Linked DNA regions of Homo sapiens: region 2 is linked to region 1. The links are contacts of gene promoters, found by promoter capture Hi-C in blood cells and fetal thymus (Javierre and others, 2016). All regions are on one chromosome and are shown on one strand. The core of a region is centred on a gene start or on the middle of the fragment in contact, and the rest is flanking DNA. Distances in the headings are between cores, read along the strand shown. Region 1 holds the start of GNG12-AS1 (GNG12, DIRAS3 and WLS antisense RNA 1). Region 2 has its middle 89 kb from the start of WLS.

Region 1 (6,615 bases), core at 2,609-5,108:
AGAAAGAAAAAAAAAAATAAGAAACCAAACAGGCTCATGGAATTTGGCCCAACAGCATAGGGAACTCTGTAGACAATGTAGATCCACCCAGTTATCACAAATATGAGCAAAGGAGCTGAAATATTTATTCCTCCACACTGGCTAAAGGCTAGGGATGGAGGTGGAGGACATTAATTCTACACATTTCCAGCTGCCCTGTGCCCAGGCAAAGCAAATCCTGCAGCTGGAGCTGGTACTCTGAGAATATGATGTGGGTGCTGGCAGGAGGGAATGAAAGCACGCCTGGAACCAGTGTGCACGAAACTGGAAAAGGACTGGAGGGGGTATGGCCAAGCACTGGCAGCAAGTGCTGGAATTAGGCATGTACTTTAATATAAACTAGAGTAGAAGATTGATGCTTGCTTTTCAAACCCATGATTACATGCTTGGAGTTACTAACTGCCAGGGTAATATATGTACAAAATAACAAAAGTGAGTCAATAAGAAATATAAATAAAAAATAGGAATTACAGTTGTATGAAAATGGAATGTGAATCCTTTAAGTTTGGGAAACATCAGCAGAGTAGAAAGGACACTGGATCAAGGGCATCGATAAAAGCACAAAGTATTGGGTCAGCCAGCCAAGGTTTGAATCCTGGCTCTGCCAGTTTTGCTCTGTAAGACCTAACCTTCCTGTGACTACGTCCTTAGGTTGTTAGGAGGATTAAAAGGTTTAATATATGTAAAGCACTTAAAGCAACATCTGCTACGCAGAAAGTGCTGGTTAAGTATTAGCTCTTATCATTCCTGCCTTGCTATTAGGTTGATGCAAAAGTAATTGCGGTAATAACTTCTGTACTAACCTAATACTATCTCGATCAGTGCTTCTCAAACTATCTGTGATATTTTATTTTCAATCTGTTGCAGGCTGATGCCTTTCCACATAAAAGAAAAATGAAATAGACATAAAATACAAAGCTGCATTTTAAACGATTTAACAGACATAAAATTACTCTGTCAAATTGCTGTAAGTTTCTACATGCTCATCTTCAATTTCTATGCTCATCCCTTTGTAGATGGGTAACGGTTTGCAGACTGTCACTATTCCATGAACCACACTTTGAACAGCACTCAACTAGAAAAACCTTCGACAAGCCGCTTAAGTTACTGGTGGCAATATGTGGTGTTCCAGCTTCCAGGTTTTTTCAAGAGACTAATGAGAGAAAAGTAAGAGTAAGTACATGAAAGCACTTATTAAACTATAAAGTGTCCCAGGAAGGAAAATTAGTAGCATAGCTTAGAGGAGTCTATTCTGTGGTCTGTGGCCAAAAAATACAAACTCCAGTATGCCACCCTCTCAGTCCCTGTGGTGTCAAGCTGTTCTGTTTCAGGTGTATCATTTGAACTGTTAGTACTTGTGAATCAGTCAAGCATTTCCTAATGCTGAACAGAACAGGAAATAAAGACCCCTCTGGCAGTCTGTGGCTTGCATCCCACAAACCACCGCCATCCGCAGCTTGCTAAGACCACACTCCTGGGGCAAGGCATGCATTCATACACCTACTCTACCTGTGACACCTCTTCTACATGTGCAAATGATTTCACTAAACCTGAAACTTGCTTAGGGGTCAGAAGGAAAGCAAGAGGGAATATAATGCCCTGACTGCAGTCCCTAGTTCCCAGATTCCCCAGGGCCCACTTGTCCTCAGTTGGTGAAACTCAATACACAGACATCCCTCACCAATGCTTTCAGACTCCATTTCAAGTGTGGACTCTGCCCACACTGGTTCTAAGTGACCTACTTTGGCCTCACCTCTTTTCTCTCCACCCTGTCAAACAAGAAAGCGGCTACCTAGGAATACTCTAGAAGTCCGCTGAGTGGTTTTCTGAACATCCAGCTTCTTTACTCTTTCTGGACTCCAAGAAGGCAAGCCCCTTGTCTGATTCATCTTTGTACCTCTCCCATCACCTTTAGCATCGCAGTTGGTACACAGCGGGTGCTTGGTAATGTCTGTCGAATGGCCAAAGGAATAGTACAAAATCTGTGGAAGCGGAAATGGCTCCTCCATTTACCCGACCTTGAACCCTTCCAGAAAAGACCAACCAAATCCCATTAATTCATTAGGCAGAACTCTGCCAGGTACTGGACATTCGGAAACAAATTTCAGGGGGTCGGGGCAGATGGACGGGAAGCTCATGGTGGGTGGATGTACTACAAATTCTATAATCCGCAGTTATACCTCCACTTTCTGGGAAACTTCTCTCCGTGGCCCCAGGGCCCTTTAAATGTTACTATGCGTGTTTTCCTCCATAGTTTCTGGAACAGAACCAAACTTTCGTGTAGGGGTTTGGCAGCGCTCATCCTCACAGCCCTGGGGACCGCTGGCACAGGGGCAAGCGAGGCGTTCGCACGCGAAGGAAACTTGCGAGGAGTCAGGGCGGCCCCGCGCGGGGGCGGGTCGTAGAGTGGGGGCCCTCAAGTCCTAGAACTTCAGGTCCTCCATGAGAATTAGAGGAAGGGGGATGGCCAAAGACGACCAGACGTCCACCGAGCTTCCACAGGCCAGGCCTCGCCCCTCCTCCTGCGGGGCCACAACGCGGGCTCCCCGGCCCGGGACAGCACAGCCAGGGCGTCCGGGCGGGAGGCAGGGCCCGGCGCGGAGGAAGGAGCCCGGGGCCGCCGCCGCCCCGCCCACCCCAGCGAGGCGGAGCCGGCGCCCGGAGGAGCAAGAGGAGGAGGAGGAGGAGAGGTCGGAGCCGTCTCCAGGAGCCCTTAGAGACCGAGTCCCGGCGGCGACGGCGGGGCAGCGCACCGGCAGGCGGGTGAGTACCAAGCGGCGGGCGCGGGTGGTGAGTCGGGTCCCCGCGGGGTCGGGGCGCGGCGCGGGGCGTCGGCCAGCGAGTTCGGGGGCCGCCTCCGAGTCCCGGGTGCTGGGAAGCGAGATGGAGGGAGGGAGCGGAGGAAGGAAGGAAGGAGGGAAGAGTGTCCTGCTGGAGGGCGGGGACTGGTCTGGGCGCTGGGCGCCGGAGACCGGGGGGAGGGGGAGGAAGGGGCCAAGGGACACCGAGACCCAGAGGCAGAAACGGCGCGCGCGCCCTCGACGGGCGGCCGCCCGAGGTTGCGGGAAGCCGCCCCCACGGCTGTGGCTGGGGCTAGGGCTGGGGGTGGAAGGAAAGGTCTCCCCTTGAGCTCGCTTGCCTCCTCGCCAGCCTGCGGCCGTGCGCCCCGCGCCGGGTTGGGAGGCCCCCAGTGTTCCCAGCCGTGGCTTGTGGTGGTGTCAGGCGTTGGAGGAGGGCTGGCATGTGGGGGCGACAGGGACGCCACGCCCCTCTGCCTACTTTCTACCTCCCGGGACCAGCCGGCGGGAGCGCAGCCTTGGAATCCGCTGGGCGCTGGGGGTCTAGCAGGGAAATAGCGGGTCGCAGAGGGGAGAGCCCATATGACGCACCCCGCGAGGGACCCCCGAGTGGGGACCCGAGGCTGCTTTTCTGCAGACTGTATTTGCAAGTGGTAAGGGGGAGGTTGAGGCTTAGTCTTGGGTGATTTTTTTTTTTTTAATTATTGCCCCGACAGTTATCCCGTGGGGCAGGGTGAATTCTGTTTTTCATTTTAATTAGGGCATATCAATTAAAGCTAACTTTAAAACGCTGTCACTTAGCACCTCCCGTCACTCACTCGTCCCTCGCTTTGTGTGTCCTGTAAACTTGGCTTAAATCATTCATAACTCACGATAAGGAAGCCGTGATTCTTGTTCACGTCGCCGCAGTGGAGTGAAACTTTGCCCAACTGGGACTGAGTGGAGGCATTGCTGCGGCCGGTCATCTGGTGGTCATCCTGCCGGGCGTGGTTGTATACAAACAAGTGGGTCGAGAAGGAAATCTCTGAACACCAGAGGTAGAAGGGAGGTTCCTGCGCCCACGTGTCAGGGCGCGTTTAATGGCTGCTCCCAGCGGAAACAAACGGGAATTTATTAGACCGTGTGGAGTTGGACAAACTTCACATGATTAGCTTCCTTCCCATCAGTTACTTCCTCTCCCCCCTGCTGTCTTTGCCGACACAGTTTATATTTCCTGGGGCGGTTGTAGCTTCGCCTGAATAGGCTGTGTATAATGAATCTTTTGGATGTCGTCAGAGGCAGGGTCTGCGTCTGTGCCTTCTCTATTTTAAAAGCGGAGTTTGGCTTTGTTTTTAAAAGTGCTAGTCACCAGACTGCACCCTTGCCAGCGCTTCGCAGCTCTCGAAGTAAATTATCGCAGGATGGCGGCCCTCACCTAGGAGAACCAGGAAGGCAGGCAGCGCTAGAACGACGGGATTGAATTTTACTATTGCCAAAACAATCACATTCAAGTAAGGAGCTGTTTTGTTTTGTTTTTGTTTTTTTAACCAAATTATATATACTAGCAAGCCCCTTTTCTAGTAAACTAACGTTATTCACACACACAATTTTTAAAGTAATCAAAAATTTTACAGAGTCTTAAGTGATAAAAGGACTTTCAGATAAAATGTTCAGTCCCTTTGCCTTCTCTAATAGTTAACCAGCGCCGTAAAGCCCTGGTTTAAGTCCAAAAAATGCTGAAAAGTCTACTGCGTCGTTAGACCTTATAAATAATGCAGTCCTATTTTTGCTGTATTTAACTCATGTAATTTACTAGATATCGAACCCCCAACAGGGCACACAGCACTTAGATTTGTGTAGAAATATATGAAAATGTGAATCTGTGTTTCACAAGAGCCTGAAAAAAATAGAATTATAAAAATTTCCTGTCCAGAAAGCTCCAGTCTTACTTGAAAGCTCTCTAACAATTAGATTTGTGGATTTGTGTTGTCACTTGTTAGAGAATATCGGTGGTTTATTAAAGTGTGAGAGCAAAGGGCTTCATGGTCAGAAAACTTGAGGAAGTGGTTAGCCAATATCAAATTAGTTTTTTTTAAAATTAGAATTATGTGATTTATTGTGTTTTGCTTTGTTTTGGAGTTTTATGTCAGCTTAAGCTTAACCTAGGAAGGCAAGTTGTGAAAGCAAGTAAATTTTTCTGAGCCCTAACTTGGAAGAGAAGCTTGTTTAACAGTGATTTGGGGTGTTGGCTTTGGAGTCAGACAGACTTAGATGAAAATATTAGCTATTTAACCTTTTTCAGTCTGATTTATAAGATGGGGATAATAATGGTCTCTATCTGTAGGGCTTTACAGAAAGTATATGAAAACTTTGTCTTTGGAAAACACTTAAACTGGACTTAACACGCAGTACATGGTCAAAATTATTAGATATTTATCTAGCTTGTTCAAGCAGCAGGCTACTGGATAAATTGCAGGGTGGCAGCTTGAACCTTCCGGAAATGCTAGATAGAGCAATTTCAAATTCTACAGAAAGTAACTGGTGTGTGTGTGTTTGTGTGTGTGTATGTGTGATGTTTCTACCACAGCAATATGAATAATTATGATTAAAGGATTAATAGTTTTAATATGCTTTTAGTGCTAAAGTTACAGTTGCATAGTAATTTTGACAGTCAGAAACATTGCATTATCCTTTACATTTAAAGAGAATTTATATTTCAAATAGTTGTGTTTATTAGCCCTAGGTAAGAAATTAAGCCAGGAACAGAAGTATTCATCTTTAACCAAGTGTAATTCTTAATCAAAGTATGAAAACATGTGACCCAAGGGTATCCGGTTATTTACTTTTGCATGTGCTGATGTCCAAGGCCAACAGATAAGCCATAAGAAGTGTTAGGCTGATTGTGAGTCGTTGTTTTATTTGTAAACTTTCATGAGATTGGGTGTTCAGTTAATTCAGGAAATCTACTCATCACATTGTTGACTCATTTCCTAAAATCTAAAAAATTTTTTAAATGCCTTCATCTTGCCAGGCGCTGTGGCTCACACCTATAATCCCAGCACTTTGGGAGGCCAAGGTGGGCGGATCACCTGAGGTCGGGAGTTCAAGACCAGCCTGACCCACATGGAGAAACCCCATCTCTACTAAAAATACAAAATAAACCAGGCGTGATGGCGCATGCCTGAAGTCCCAGCTACTCGGGATGCTGAGGCAGGAGAATCACTTGAACCCAGGAGGCGGAGGTTGCGGTGAATCGAGATCGTGCCATTGCACTCCAGCCTGGGCAACAAGAGCAAAAACTCTGTCTCAAAAAAAAAAAAAAAAAAAGCCTCCATCTTTAAAACAAACCCTTTAAAGCTTCTTGTTTTTGTCCTAATGCACGTCAGGTGCACAGAATTGGGCTGAACCAGGATCTTAGCTCATGCCACAGATGATTTCTCATTTTACTAATTGCTCCACTGGGACACAGAGATGTGGTTTATAATAATTTTAAATAACTATAAAGGGTACAGTGTGATTATTAATTGTTTCTTGCCTATGACATTATGCTCTGAAACAACTGAAGCATTTGATTGAGTAAATTATTGATTCGTTTCACTCCTAGAACATAACATAATGATTTCTGGCTCATACTTCTAGGTGAGTAGACTGTGAGCAAGTTACTTAATCTATGCTTCAATAAGTGTTGTGAGGAATAAATGAGCTAATCTATGTATATAGCATTTGGAATAGTGCCTGGTGCATAGTCCACATTCAATAAATGTTAACATTAAATTATTGAAATTTTCTCTAAATGTTG
Region 2 (6,615 bases), core at 2,819-5,318, 490 kb before region 1:
GTAGTCAATAATAACTTAATTGTACATTTAAAAATAACTAAAACAGTATAATTGGATTGTTCATAATACAAAGGATAAGTGCTTGAGGGAATGGATAACCCATTCATTCTCCATGATGTGATTATTATGCATTGCATGCCTGTATCAAAACATCACATGTACGTCATAAGTATATACAGCTACTATGTACTTACAAAATCAAAAATTAAAATAAATACATAAATTCTAAAAATTACAAAAGAGTGTCTAGGTTAAAATGCTATTTTTCAGCTTACTAGTTATATGACTTGATTACTTACTGTAGCAGACTGAAAATACTTCTAAATTTGTTGATTTTCTTCATATTTAGAGGTAGAATCTAATTCCCTTTCCCCTGAATGTTGGCTAGTCTTAATGACTGGCCTGTGGCAGAAGTCACCTCCTGTGGGTTCCTAGGCTATTTGATAAGAAGCCTTATAGCTTCCACTCAGACCTCTTGGACAACTTGCCCTGGGGCACCATGTTGGAAGTCCAACTACCCCGAGGCCACTATGCTAGGAAAAAACTCAAGCTAGCCCTGTGAAGTCACCATGCAGACAGAGATGCCTGGCCAGCCCCTCACTATTCAAATCATCCCAGCTGTAGTCCTAGACCCCATGGAGCAGAGTAGCACTGCCCGTCAAATTCCTGCTCCCCCAGAAACATGAGATAATGGCAATAAATTGTTGTTTTAGGTCACGAAGTATTGCAGTAGTTTGTTAAGTGGCAATAGATGATGAAATACTCCACTGTGTCTCTGTGTTCTTGTTTGAAAGTGGGGATACAACAATTTTCTACCTCTTTGCATCACTGTAAGAGTTAAATGGGTTAGAACTTGTAAAGCACTTAATGCCTGGCCCAAAGTAAGTGCTTGTACATATTAGATGTTATTATTTTAAAGATGTTATTTTTTATTTCTATAGATCAAAACAATTTTGTTTTGGTGAAATTAGTGATGGCTCAGAGCTAAGGTACATGATGATCTTGATTAATAGGTCACATTGTGAATTGGATGCCTTTGGTTGACTTTTTAGTTAGCAGGACTTGATTCAGACCCTGTGTAAGTAAGGTGATCTCTTGCTGAAAATCCACGTGTCAAGGGCGAAGGAGCAACCCCTGCCCCAAATATCAACTTAATCATCTTCCTAAGGCATCTGAGCTTTGCCCTGGGCAGAGGAGAGAGGCTTCCTAGTACGCTTCCAAATGCCTCCATTTATACTGCTGTTTTTTTGCCTTTTCCATACTGGCATAATTTGACACTAACGGGAAAAAGCTCTTGAGGATGAAAACTGTTGGTCGTTTCTCCCTGTGAGCTTGGAATCCAGCTTCAGAGGAGGAGAAACACAAACATGACACTAATGGACTTCCCTTGTTCTCAGTTCTTCTCATTTCAAGACAGCAGTGCCCTTGGCCTCCGGCTCCTGGCTTCAGATCCATTAGTGCCGGGCAAATGAGCCATGTGGTTTCTCTCATCTCCTGCCCATAAACCACCACACATACCTCTCTCCTGACCCTTCCCTCTAGTTAACATTGTTTAACACACTCAAGGACACAGTTGCGGTTCTTTTATTCCTAGAAAAGCAAGACGTGCTAATGCTTCCTGTGCTGGCCACCTCGGTGGCGACTCAAAGCCACAGCCTGGGCCGTTTGATGCTTTCTATTTCGGAATGGTATTGATAGCCTGTTACTGAGTGCCTCGGTGATGAAAAGCGCCCCTGGGAACCCGCTGACACGCCTGCGTTCCTCCACTGACTCAACCTGGCACAGCAGTCACTTCACTCTCCCTGGACTTCCAGATGTTGCAAGGCCTTCTCCAGGGCAACATCAGGGCTCTGTGCCCCTGGGAGGAGGAACTGAGGGGCAGAAAAGGGATGGAGAACTCAGACACACACACAAGTATCCTAACTCACGAGGGCATTTGTGTGCTGGGCTGGATATTTAACCAGCACCTGAAGTAATGAAAAGTGTTTTGGTTTCAAAACACCAGACCTGGGTTTTAGGCCTCATTCTGCCTTATACTAGCTGTTTGAGTTTTGGTAAGCTATCTAGATCTCAGCCTGCTTATTTGTGTAATTAGCACAGAGGGCTATCCTGACAGTTGGACTAGATGGAGTTTTGCCTTTATGCAGCGGAGATCTGGAAGGGCATACAGATATCAACCATTACCAGGAAGAGCCCAGTTTTCTTGTAGCTGGGTCACAGACACATTTGGAATCCAGAGGATGCTAAAAACAGTTCAGCTGCTGTTCTCAACAGGCTGCCTTTGAGTCCACACAGAATTTACCTTCTCTGTTTCCTCCATACTTTCTTTTTCTTTTCTGTCTTCTCCCCTGGGTCCTAGTTAAGGATAGAGTCTGACCGTCCCTTTCCTCTGAGCCTGGGACAAGTTCGACTCCAGGAGCCTTCTTAGTGGAGCTCCTGAAATGAAACAAGACTCTCTTGTTGATCCTAACTGCTTCTCTTAGCAAAGCTTTGAGGTGAGATCTGAGAATGGGAAACGAGTGAGAATGGGACCACATTAAAGGGACAGAGAAGTGTACCTTGGCAAAGATTAGCACATAGTAAGTATTCAGTAATGCCCTTGCCTTTCTTTAATTTTTTTTTCACCTAGTTTTCACTTTTATTCTGTCCAGGGTAGTTCCTTGTGCTCTCAGTTCAATTTGGATGTTTTCTTATCTGGACATATCTTAACATCTGCAGATGATTTTCCAAACTTGAGGGCTTGTAAACAATTCTGAGTCAGTTGTGGTGGATCATGCCTGTAATCTCTACGAAAATATGTTGGCTTTTTTTTGTTGTTGTTGTTTGTTTTTTGTTTTGAGACAGAGTTTCGCTCTTATTGCCCAGGCTGGAGTGCAATGGCGCGATCTTGGCTCACTGCAACCTCCACCTCCCAGGTTCAAGTGGTTCTCCTGCCTCAGCCTCCAGCCTCAGCATGTGCCACCATGCCTGGCTGATTTTGTATTTTTAGCAGAGATGAGGTTTCTCCATGTTGGTCAGGCTGGTCTCAAACTCCCGACCTCAGGTGATCCGCCCACCTCGGCCTCCCAAAGTGCTGGGATTGCAGGCATGAGCCACCATGCCCAGCAAAAATATTTCTTAAAAATTAGCTGGGTGTGGTAGTGCGTGCCTGTGGTCCCAGCTACTCAGGAGGCTGAGGTGAGAGGATCCTCTGAGCCAGGGGAGGTAGAGGCTTCAGTCAGCCATGATTGCACCACTGCATTCCAGCCCAGGTGACAAAGACCCTGTCTAAAAAAAAAAAAAAAAAAATTTCTGAGTTTTTCATAATTCTTTTGTTTCTTAAAGCAAATTGGTCCAATGACTAGATTCCTCCATCACAGTTAATTAATTTTTTTCTGGTCCTTATTTCTAATATCTGGGGTGGATTTCCACTGATATAAAGAAAGCTGAAGACAGATCCCAAAATTCACTATGCCCCTGAAATTCTATTTTGTATCTAGAAAAATCTAAAATCCTTCAGTGCTCTAGAGTTTCAGTTTAAGAAAGCTCTCAGCCAGTGACTATACAGGGACAAATATAGAACAATGACAGCAATTACCAGGACACTGCCCCACTGACAACATAAAAAAGTAATGTCATAAACCTATGGACACAAACCAGTTTTATGTCAAGGAGCCCCGACTCCAGGGTTCTTCTGTAAAGCAGGAGAGGGCCATTAAGCCCTGGGCTTAGCCAGACATCCTCATCCATGGGCCAGGGTGAGCCGCCAGAGGGCAGAGCCGTGGCAGCAGCAAGACAGCTAGCCAGCACACTCCGCAGCTCCTGCAAATATTTAACTAAATCTTCATTCTAACTCTCCAACCGACTAAATGTGTGACCTTGGGCAAGTTGCTTAAGCTCCCATGTCTCAGTTTTCCTCACGTGTAAAATTAATAAAATCTAGGCCAGGAAGTGTTATGGAAGTTAAATGAATTTATACATATAAAACTCTCAGAATGATGCCAAGCAAATAACAAATAACATATAAGTGTTTTCTGGTATTACTGTTGTTCTCATCAACTATTTTGATTACATTTTTAAAAAATAGTCTTTCTTCTAAGCTAACACAATTTAAAATTGGAGGTTCGCACAAGTCAGTCTCTTCCTTGTCTTTCCTAACTTATTCATAGATTTTATTATTATTATTATTATTTTAGAGATAGGGTCTCATTATATTGCCCAGGCTAGCTTTGAACTCCTGGGCTCAAGTGATCCTCCAGCTCAGCCTCCTGAGTAGCTAGGACTACAGGTATGCCCCAACAAACCCGGCTTTTGATTCATAGATTTTTTTTTTTAAAGTCGATTCCAATTTCCCATTCCCCATGTGTTGTATAGGGTGTCAGCTGGGAGCGTGCAAGTCTGAGGGCTTCAGGCTTTGCCACTGTGTGACCTGGGGCAAGGCACCTGGCCATCTGCTCCTCCCTTTTCTCCCATATGAAGTGGAAGGCTCATGCTAGGTTACCTGTGGAATCAATTCAGCCCTCAGGCCAGGAGAACAGCAGGGCTCCTTCAGTGCTGCATCCCTGTATTTCTCTTTCACTCCAGATTCCAAGCAAGGCTGAAGGCAGCCTATTTTCAAACTGCTCAACTCTCTCAAGAGAGGAAGAAAACCTGCCTTCAAACATAGCTCGCTGACTTTCCCCAAGATAAGCAACCCCCTTCCCAAGACTCTCTGATTATCAAACATGTCAGCAGTATTCTAAGAATCCTGTATAAAATAAGCAAACCAGTCCTCCGGGAAGACCTGAGGGACTGCTTTGAACAAGGGAAATGAACCTTAATGCATAAATGGATACATCCTCATTAAGCTGCAGATGCCAGGAATCACTGGGATGCTGACCCCTGTGCGGGAGGTACTGCACCTCTGCAGGTGGCAGGGTCACCAAGGAGCATAATTCTCTACCCCCTGCAGAATACTTGCCTGGAATATCTTTATATTCTCCGGGTGATGCCTGTAGAATTTTTTCTTTCTTTCCTTTAATCTCTCCTTCCAAAGTAGTCTCGAGCCCCTGCTATGCGCCAGAGACTGTGCTTACTGACAGTTACATAAGGAAGATTAAGACATGCTTCTTGCTTTCAAAAAATTCACACATCAGTAGGAAAAACTAAAATGTAAAGAATTCTATAACACAATGCCAGGCTAAATCTGGTTCCCCTGTTAACACTCTAATAGCACTTAGTACTTTCCTTTTCTATCACTTATCACAAGTTGGTAAATGCACTTGTATATTCCATTAATTAATATCTTACTTCTGCCAACCCCCCTCTCACATTGTAGACTGTGACTCCTTGAGCTAATATATACTTAGTAATTATTATATACCAGACACTGTCTTAAGTGCCTTATATATATTATCTTTCAATCTTCACAACTACTTTAAGAAGAATATACTAATATTCTTATTTTACAAATGAGGAAACCAAGACAGTAACGTGCCTGAGGTCACACAGCTGGTAAGAGTCAGAACCAGGTCTTAAACAAAAGCGGTCTGGCTTCAAATCTCTGTTCTCAGCTCTCTATTAAAGGGAAGATATCAAGACTCTTTTAAAGGTGATGGATAAGTAGGTGATACAGCCTAGAAAGATTTCCTTCTAAAATTGTTAAATTTCAATAATGTAGGTAAGCTTCCTTTGTCTGGAAAATCCATTCATATGGAACTCCTTAATTCCTACTATCAAACCCAATTTAGGCTTTGTGTATACAAAATATAAAGAAGAACAGGAGATAAATGGTGGCACTTAGATCAGAAAAAAAGAATATTTATTGCAAAACAAGTCTATGTGTATTGAAAAATACTGTTATCCTAAAAGCAAAAGGCTATATATTGTCATTTCTCTGACTTGATCTAAATTTAAGATTATGAAAGCCAAAGAAAATTGATCAACTATTTCCTAAAGAAAGAGACCCACCTCCACTGCTGTAATAATCCAATTCATTAACCCATGGACAGCAGGCACTTCTCTGGTAGACGCTTGTTATCATCTCATCAACTAAAAATGCAAATGTCTGTTAAAAATAAATGAGATTGGCAGCTGGGCATGGTGGCTCACACCTGTAATCCCAGCATTTTGGGAGGCCGAGGCGGGTGGATCACCTGAGGTCGGGAGTTCGAGACCAGCTTGACCAACATGGTGAAACCCCGTCTCTACTAAAAATACAAAATTAGCTGGGTGTGTGTGGTGGTGCATGCCTGTAATCCCAGCTACTAGGCAGGCTGAGGCAGGAGAATCACTTGAACCCAGGAGGCAGCGGTGGCAGTGAGCCGAGATCACGTCATTGCACTCCAGCCTGGGCAACAAGAGTGAAACTCTGTCTCAAAAAAAAAAAAAGAGATTGGCTGGGCATGGTGGCTCACACCTGTAATCCCAGCACTTTGGGAGGCCGAGGCAGGTGGATCACTTGAGATCAGGAGTTTGAGACCAGCCTGGCCAACATGGTGAAACCCTGTCTCTACTAAATATACAAAAATTAGTTGGGTATGGTGGCAGGCACCTATAATCCCAGCTACTCAGGAGGCTGAAGCAGGAGAATCGCTTGAACCCAGGAGGTGGAGGTTTCAGTGAGCCAAGATAGTGCCACTGCACTCCAGCCTGGGT

What was found. The method cuts DNA at HindIII sites, captures the fragments that hold promoters and counts their contacts. A CHiCAGO score of 5 or more calls a contact.
Region 2: a contact is called between a fragment that was not itself captured here and the fragment with the promoter of GNG12-AS1 in region 1, in 2 of 17 cell types (endothelial precursors and megakaryocytes). The highest score is 7.6, in endothelial precursors.

Annotation. Positions count from the first base shown.
Region 1 is chr1:67,829,531-67,836,145 of GRCh38, reverse strand. It overlaps GNG12-AS1 (GNG12, DIRAS3 and WLS antisense RNA 1), which reads right to left and starts at 3,858. Exons shown (of 10, transcript NR_040077.1): 1 at 3,710-3,858. GNG12 (G protein subunit gamma 12) reads left to right here and starts at 2,679. Exons shown (of 4, transcript NM_018841.6): 1 at 2,679-2,802. The HindIII fragment of the contact is 10,966 bases long and covers 1-4,974 here.
Region 2 is chr1:68,318,415-68,325,029 of GRCh38, reverse strand. No RefSeq gene overlaps it. Among named protein-coding and RNA genes, the nearest start is that of WLS, 89 kb to the right of the region's middle. The HindIII fragment of the contact is 3,155 bases long and covers 2,491-5,645 here.